Regions from separate parts of the Homo sapiens genome. Here region 1 is linked to region 2. Evidence: promoter capture Hi-C in human tissues and cell types (Jung and others, 2019). All regions are on one chromosome and are shown on one strand. Each heading gives the region's core, a stretch centred on a gene start or on the middle of the fragment in contact. The rest is flanking DNA. Distances are from core to core; before and after follow the strand shown. Region 1 holds the start of CA11 (carbonic anhydrase 11). Region 2 holds the start of FKRP (fukutin related protein).

Region 1 (3,841 bases), core at 678-3,177, 1.9 Mb after region 2:
ATGGGAAGAATGGGTGATCCATTTTACAGTGTAAGCAGCCTCCTCTCCACCCACTGGGTGTCCCCTCCTCCCCCAAGGCTGCTCTCCTACCTCAGCACCCCATTCCCCAGCCTCTATTCATGCCCATCCCCAGTGGGTTCAATAGCTCCTCCCTCCAAGCCCCTTACCTTCTCTCCTCCAGTGCTGAGCCTTAATGGGGGCAGAAAGGGGTCATAAAGAACCCTCTTCAGCTCCACATCCACGGGGCTCTGCCGCTTCCCCACAGCACACAGACTCCACGCTGCATTCACCAGGCCCCAGAAAGGAGGCCCTGGGGGTGGGGTCGGAGTAGGAGGACAAGGAGTCAGAAATAGAGACTGGATCCCAGGGCTGGTATCTGCTGAGTGGGCTGTGGTCTGGACTCCCAGATCCCAGGGGAGGAGGGGCTAGGGACCTAGACTCCTGGGTCTGAGGGAGGACTGGGCTCAGATCCAGAATTCTGGGTCCTAGAAGAATCTTGGAATAGTTTCCAAGTTTAGCAGAGACGGGTTTCACCAAGTTGGCCAGGCTGGTCTTGAACTCCTGACCACAGGTAATCCACCCACCTCGGCCTCCTAAAGTGCTGGGATTTCAAGCGTGAGCCACCGCGCCCAGCCGATCAAACCCATCTTAAGCCACTGTAGATGGAACTACAACTCCCAGCAGGCCCCAGTGCTACCAGCCTACCCCTCTGCTGCCTACCTGCCCCAGAGCCCCGTGGGAGTTGTAGTTCTTTTTTTTAATCGCTCTTATCCCACAGCTGGATTATTATTAATGTGTTGGGGAGAGGAGCTGCAAGAGAAGGCTGGACAAGGTGGGGGACGGGGCCACCCAGCCTCTGGTTCCTAGCAGGAGCCAGGACCTTCCTCTCCCGGCAAACACACACATAATCTCCACCCCCACACTTTCCTTCCACTCACTCCCACTCACTACTTGAAATGCGCATGTATAATGTCCCATGGTGAGCCCCTGGGGTTCAGAAGCTGGCCCGACTCCTGAGGGACAGAGGAGGGGGCTGGGACTCCTGGTCCTGGGGGGGAGGAGGGAGCTGGGAACCCAGGTTCCTGAGTCTGAAGAAGGAGGCGCCGGGAGGGCCGGACTCCTGGGTCCCCGCCTTGGCGGCACCTGGCACGAAGTTTCCCTGGAGATTATCCTTGTAGCTCCACCAGTCCTCGGGGTCAGGTGCTGGTCCGATGTGAGCTGGGAAGAGAGCAGCCTGAATCCCTCTCCTTGGCATCCCCACCTCCACCCTCCCTCGGGGGCTCCTCCCGGGAACCCCAGGTCTTACCTGCTGCCCCCAGTGCAGCCCAGAGTACCAGCGCTCGAGGGGCGCTCAGACGAGCTGCAGCCCCCATCCCCAGGAGGCCTCCGAGGGACCCCTGCCCAACGCCCTGCCCCCCTCTCTCAGCTCCTCTGTCCCCTCCTTCTGGGACCCTGTCCCTCCAGGACTTCCAGCTTTCCTCTCCTCCCCACAGGGAGTCCCAGTTCCCCAAATGCCAAAGCAGCCAGGGACTGAGATCCGCCCTTCAAACCCACTCTTCTTCTCTCTCCCGTCTCTCTGTGTCTTTCCTCTTTCCTCTGCTCTTTTCCCGGAACCCTCCAGTCTCCCTCTAGCTCCTGATCTTCCTACTCCTCTCAGCCTTCTGCTGCCCCCAGGGCTACCTCTTGGTTCCTAACCCACACCTCCTCTCCGTTCTCTTTTCATTAAGCTCTCCCAAGCCACCTAACTCCAGGTCTCCATCCCGCATCTCCTCCTCCTCCTCCCTCTCTCCTTTCCAGCTCCTGCCTCTTCTCCCCTCTCTCCTTCTTCACCTCCTCCCGCCCTCCCTCAGTGTCGGCCTCCAGCTTCGTGCTCTCCCCACCTCCTCCTCTCCTGCCTCTTCTCCCTGTTTCAGTCTCTCTTCTCTCTTGTCCCTTCCTCCCTCCTCCCCCTCCCTCTCTCCTCTCCCGTGGTGTTATTTAATTTTGTTGTTGGGCTGGGGGAGCAGGTGATCTCATAGCGGCAAACACTCCTCGGGTTGGCTTGGGGTGGGATGTGCGAAAGGGCAGGATTCGGAAGGAGGTAGGGGGCTGGTCCTCGGCTCCCAGCCGCGCTGGGGCCACGCGGGCGGGGGTGGCCGGGACACCTGGGGCCGGGAGCAGGCTGTTTCCATCCTCCGCAGCAAGGGGAAGGGGGGGCGCTTAAGGTGGAGCTGGGAGTGGCTTCGGAAGTCTCCATGCTGGGGGCCGCCGGCCTTGGCGGATGCAGGGTCCCCCTGCTCGCTGGGACCCAGGTTGGAGCCGCCCCAGCGCCCGCAGCCCCCCTTCCCCGCCCCAGGGCTCCACTGGGTCTCTGCCTGGGGCTGCCTTAACGGGGCCGGGGGATCCCCTAGGAGCCTGAAGTGCAGTGAGGGCTGCTCGCCTGGAGGGGGAGGCAGAGACCTGGCGAGGGAGAGAGGGGCGGGGAGGAGGAGCCGGGAGGGCAGAGGCGGAGAGCGGGAGGTGAGGACCCACATCTGCGTAGGCTGGGGAGGGGAAGGGAGCCTGAGATGGATACGGAGAGGAAGGGCGGAGGGACAGAAGGTTAGAGAGGCAAGAACAAACCGCCAGGCAGGAGTGAGGAGGAGGGGGAGGAGGTGAAGGAGGAGGGGGAGGAGGGAGAGGAGGGGGAGGGAGAGGAGGGGGAGGAGGGAGAGGAGGAGGGGGAGGGAGAGAGGAAGGAATGAATGAGAGAGATACAGATAGAGGCAGAAAAGGAGATACAGAGACGCAGCGAGACAGACATGGAGACATAGAGACACACACTTAGAGATAGACAGAAACTCAGAGACCAAGCAGCAGATGGGGTGGGGAGAGACAAAAAGAGAGAAAGAGCGATCCAAAGACAGAGAGAGACACCACATTTTTGTATTTGGGGAGAAGAGATGGGGTCATGCTATGTTGCTCAGGCTAGTCTCAAACTCCTGTCCTCAAGGGATCCTCCCACCTTGGCCTCCCAAAGCATTGAGATTACAGGCATGAACAACCATACCCAGCCTCAGAGAGACCACATATTACTGTTGTTGTTGTTATTTATTATTTTTCACCCCGTCTAATGGTAGTGAAACTGCTCATTGTCTTCTTTTATTTTCTTTTTTGAGACAAGCCTTGCAATGTCACCCAGGCTGGAGAGCAGTGGTGCGATCATGGCTTGATCCAGCCTCGACCTCCTGGGCTTAAACACTCCTTCCACCTCAGCCTCCCAAATAGTTGGGACTACAGGCACATGCCACCATGCCAGGCTAATTTTTAAAAATTATTTTTTGTAGAGATGTAGTCTTGCTATGATGCCCAGGCTGGTCCGGAACCCCTGGGCTCAAGGGATCCTCCTGCCTTGGCCTCCCAAAGTGCTGGGATTACAGGTGTGAGCCACCTTGTCCAGCCTGACACCAAACATTAACGAGACAGAGAGACATAGAAAGAGACACACATACATCAGTACAGGTGGAGAGAGACACAGAGAGGGAGAGACATAGAAACACACACACAGACTGAGCATGGTGGCTCACACCTGTAATCCCAGAACTCTGGGAGGTCAAGGTGGATGGATCACTTGAGGCCAGGAGACTGAGACCAGCCCGGCCAACATGGCCAAATGCCATCTCTACTAAATACATAAAAACTTAGCCAGGCATGGTGGCTCACGCCTGTAATCCCAGCACTTAGGGTGGTCGAGGTGGGTGGATCACCTGAGGTCAGGAGTTCAAGACCAGCCTGACCAAAATGGTGCAACCCCGTTTCTACTAAAAAATACAAAAACTAGCTGAGCGTGGTGGCACACACCTATAATCCCGGCTACTCAGGA
Region 2 (4,226 bases), core at 1,548-4,047:
ACACACACACCCCTCTGAGATGTCTGAATTTTTACTAACTTAACAGAATAAAAGAAAACAAAAGTACAAAGTGACAGTGCTGGTACCATGCCAGACACAAGTTCCTCTCAAACTCCAAGAAGGGTCAGTAAGTGAGGGGATAAACATCTTTTCTCTCATCAGCCTCCAGGATGAGAAGATGGTGTGGTGGGTGCTGTGCGGTGCACTGGTGCAAAGTCCCAGAGGCCAAGATTCAGTCCAAGCTCTGCTATGACTGCTTGGGTGACCCTGGGGAGGCCACTATGCTTGCCTGAACCAATTTTCTCAACTGTACTGGGTAGCAGAGAGGTACAGAACATGGGCTTAAAAGTCTACCGACGGTCGGGCATGGTGGCTTATGCCTGTAATCCCAGCACTTTGGGAGGCCGAGGCAGGTGGATCTCTTGAGGCCAGGAGTTCGAAACCAGCCTGACCAACGTGGCAAAACCCCATCTCTACTAAAAATACAAAAATCAGCCAGGCGTGGTGGTGGTGCACACCTGTAATCCCAGCTACTTGCGAGGCTGAGGCAGGAGAATCGCTTGAACCTGGGAGGCAGTGGTTGCAATGAGCCAAGATCATGCCACTGCACTCCACCCTGGGTGACAGAGTGAGACTCTGTCTCAAAAAAATAAAAATAAAAATAAATAAATAAATAAATAAATAAACAAAAGGTCCACCACAGACCAGCCCTTCTGCTCATCTGCTGGGATCCTAGATAAATCACCCTCTCAAAACCTCCATTTCCTCTCCTGATTTTTTTTAAAGGTAGGGGGAATATCCTTTATCCTCCCAGAATGCTGCAAGAATTAAATGACAGCTCGTATCTACAGTACTTGATACAGCGCCCCAGACATGGTATGTGCTCACTAAATTGCAGCTGGTACCGTTATTGCTGAGTGAGGTAATGACACTGCCTCTGCCTACATCACAGGGCATTGTGAAGATCTGATGAGATGTATGCTGGGAAAGAGCTTCGGAAGTAGAGAGTGGGACAGAAGTGAGAGCAGTTACATAAGGATTCTGCTCCCATCCCAGCCCCAAGCCTCAGCCACCACAAGTGAGGGCAGGGGGAGAGTTACTGGAGGGTCTTTACTCATCCTATGAACAAAATGCTTTTTTTTGAGACAGGATCTCACTCTTTTGCCCAGGCTGGAGTGCAGTGGTGCAATCATGGCTCACCGCAGCCTCAACCTCCGGGGTTTAAGCAATCCTCCCACCTCAGCCTCCTGAGTAGCTGGGACTACAGGCGCATGTCACCACACCCGGCTAATTTTTGTACTTTTTTGTAGAGATGAGGTCTTGCTATGTTGGCCAGGCTGGCCTCGAACTCCTGGGCTCAAGGGATTCTCCCACCTCAACCTCCCCAAGTGTTGGGATTACAGGCGTGAGCCACCGCACCCCATCCCTACCGACACAATTCTCATCAGCTATTTATTTGGGTACCAGCTTCCTACTAGATAGCAAACGGCAAATCGGAAGGGGAAAGGTGGGCTGCTACAAGCAGGTAATGACAATTTCTGCTAATAATAACCCAGTCCAAGAATCTTCAGACTTCCAGCGGGCCATTCCTGATCCCTTCAAATCCGGACATCTCCATGGTCCTCCAGTCACTGCCAATGGACCTGACGCTCCACGAGGTCACAAACCCTAGCCCAACTCCTCAGACTCTTCCATTCAACATCCCTGTCCCAAGCTACCCCAAAAACCACGGGGTCTTTTCCCAAGACTTCCACAAACATATCCCCTTCCCCCCAACCCCAGTCTACCCCCGTTCCGAGATGCCTCCTCATGTTGCCTTCGGGCTCTACAAAATTCTCCCCCCTAAAGCATCACCCCAGGGTAACCCCTAACTCGTCCTCATTGGCACCATCCCAGGACCCTCACCTCCATACTGGACATGCCCAACACCCCACACTCCAGTTCAGGGCTCTCTACCTACATCCTACAACACACGTGCCATCTCAGTGCCATCGCGCCCACTCCTGCACACCCCCAAAGTGGAACTTCCACTCTTAAGCTCTCCCATCCAGGCTCCTAGGGTACATTCCCTGCTCTGTCCACACTTCCACTCCAAAGAACCCTTCCCTGCACTGTGCAGCCACACATGCCCGGGATCCCCAAAGTTTCTCCTCAGAGGGGAAGGCACACACCTTCATCCTGGACCCCTTGAAACCCTCCTCCCACCCCTCGGGTCCTTACACAGCCCTCCTTCCGTGCCCACCGTCCAGTCGCCCCGAAACACACCGATCCCAGGTTCCCGACTTCCTCTCCCTAAATCCTCCCGGTTCCCCATCTGGACCCGCTCTTTCCCAGCGGGTCCCAAGTTCCCCCCTTGGACGCTCCCACCTCCAACCTGCACCTGGCTAGGGCCATGGTCGGGGTCGGGGTCGGGAGTCCCTCGGCGCCCGGCAAGCTTCTGCTTACTCCCACAGGAGACCACTCAGGTCTCCCAGACCCCTCCAGCTCCTCTCCACACCCTTTCCCGAGTTCTCTTAGCCTCCCCTCCAGGGCTCGAGTCGCCTCTCTCAGGAGCCCCGCGGCCAGCGTGCTCAGTCCCAGTCCCAGTCCCACTCCCAGCTGGTTGTGGTCCCTCCGCCCCTTTCTCTCGGCCGGTCCCGGTGATCCCTCCCACCCCCGGTCCCTCCACTCCCACCTCGGGCCGTCCCGGTCCCGTCCCACCCCGGAGTGCCCTCAGGACACCCCTCGGACGGCCCCTCACTCGCCCTCCGGGACCGTCGCGGTCCCCTCCCGCCCCCCCGCCGGCCGTCCCGGCGGCCATTGCTCCAAGATGGCGGCGGCGGCGGCAGCGGGTGAGGCCGGGCCGGGCCGGGCCGGGTTGGGGGTCGGGGGTCCCGGGACAGCGCTCACCTGTAACTCGGCGCGCTCGGCCTCCCAGCGGGCTTTCTCGGCTTCGAAGCGCGCCCACTCGTGCTGGATAAAGTGCAGGATCCCCGGCAGGCTCAGGGGCTCCGGGCCCGCCGTGGGCCCGGGGCTGCCTCCGCCGCCGCCTCCCTTACCTGCCGGGCCCGGCCCGGGGGCAGGGGCGGAGACCGGGGCCGCCCCAGTGGGGCCAGGGCCCGCGCCTGAGCCGAGCGGACGGCAGGAGGAGGCGGCGGCGGCGACCGCGGCGGCCGCTCGCTCCTCCATCATGGAGGCCCCGGGGCCGGCCTGCGCGCCCGCTGTGCCTCGCGCGCCTGCGCGGCCGCGCCAACACCCCCCCCCCTCCCCCGCCGCAACCACCGCGCGCGCGCCCGGCGGGGGACAGTAGGAAGGGGGGCCGGCGGCGAGCGCGAGCCTCGCCCACCCGGGTCTACACCGAAGGGTAGCGTGCCCGCGCGGGGGCCGGCGGGTGGGAGATCGCGCCCCGAGGAGGGCGAGGGAGACCCAGGCCCCGCGCGACGGTCCCCCTCGCTGGAGTGAGACTGAGGAAGGGGCCGCTTTCTGCCCCCCTCCTCCCACTTCGCCCCAGAGAAAGAGCCTTACCCCTTCCACACCCAAACACCACTCTCCTGGACAATTACTTTTACTCTGAGAGAAAGGGCGACCAGCAGTGGCCCCATCCTCTCTGATTGCCGGCCAGGTTGGTTGTCATGGTAACCCTTCCCCAGCGGTGGGGGCGAGGTGGTGGGGAGCAGCCTTCCCCTCGCTTCCACCTTTGTGGTTATGGAGCCCCAAACCTCTTAGGACTCTGCACCAGGAGAAGGTTGCTAAGGTAACCTAAGTGTCCGTGGTGGTCCTTCTGCTCCTATCCTCATTGATTACTATGGCAACCTCCCCCCCACCTAGCATTCAGGTAGAAAGGACCCCAGCCCCAAGGACACTGATCTCTAAGAGAAGCACCTCTTCCCCAGCCCCTCCCCCATAGCCACCTAGTTGGCATTACCATGGTAACCGTCTTCCCCTTCCCATCGTGGGAGGCCCATGCACCAAACTAACCAGGTGTTTTTATTTAGAGGAGATGCTCTGCTGAGGGGCAGTTGCTATGGTTACAGGGCCTGGACCTTCCTCCGGAAGGTGAGAAACAGGCAAGTTCAAGGCCTGGTTACTATGATAATAGAGCAGCCCCCTTCGAGTGACCCTAGGAACCAAGCCCAACAAAGGAGGGGATTTTTTTTTTTTTTTTTTTTTTTGAGACAGAGTGTAACTCTTGTTGCCCAGGCTGGGATGCAATGGCCCAATCTCGGCTCACCACAACCTCCGCCTCC

Evidence for each region. The method cuts DNA at HindIII sites, captures the fragments that hold promoters and counts their contacts. A contact is called where the count stands out against the background at its distance.
Region 1: the fragment with the promoter of CA11 here is called in contact with the fragment with the promoter of FKRP in region 2 in 1 of the 25 tissues and cell types used here (IMR-90 fibroblasts).

What each region holds. Positions count from the first base shown.
Region 1 is chr19:48,644,260-48,648,100 of GRCh38, forward strand. It overlaps CA11 (carbonic anhydrase 11), which reads right to left and starts at 1,928. Exons shown (of 9, transcript NM_001217.5): 1 at 1,307-1,928; 2 at 1,144-1,218; 3 at 168-310. The coding sequence starts at 1,373. It also overlaps the pseudogene SEC1P. RefSeq lists enhancers at 1-557, 558-1,258, 1,259-1,959 and silencers at 1,917-2,106, 2,137-2,546. The HindIII fragment of the contact is 19,792 bases long and covers 1-3,841 here.
Region 2 is chr19:46,743,260-46,747,485 of GRCh38, forward strand. FKRP (fukutin related protein) reads left to right here and starts at 2,798. Exons shown (of 4, transcript NM_024301.5): 1 at 2,798-2,831. STRN4 (striatin 4) reads right to left here and starts at 3,191. Exons shown (of 18, transcript NM_013403.3): 1 at 2,890-3,191. The coding sequence starts at 3,171. RefSeq lists silencers at 2,737-2,966, 3,177-3,226, 3,237-3,386, 3,427-3,526, 3,567-3,616. The HindIII fragment of the contact is 7,098 bases long and covers 657-4,226 here.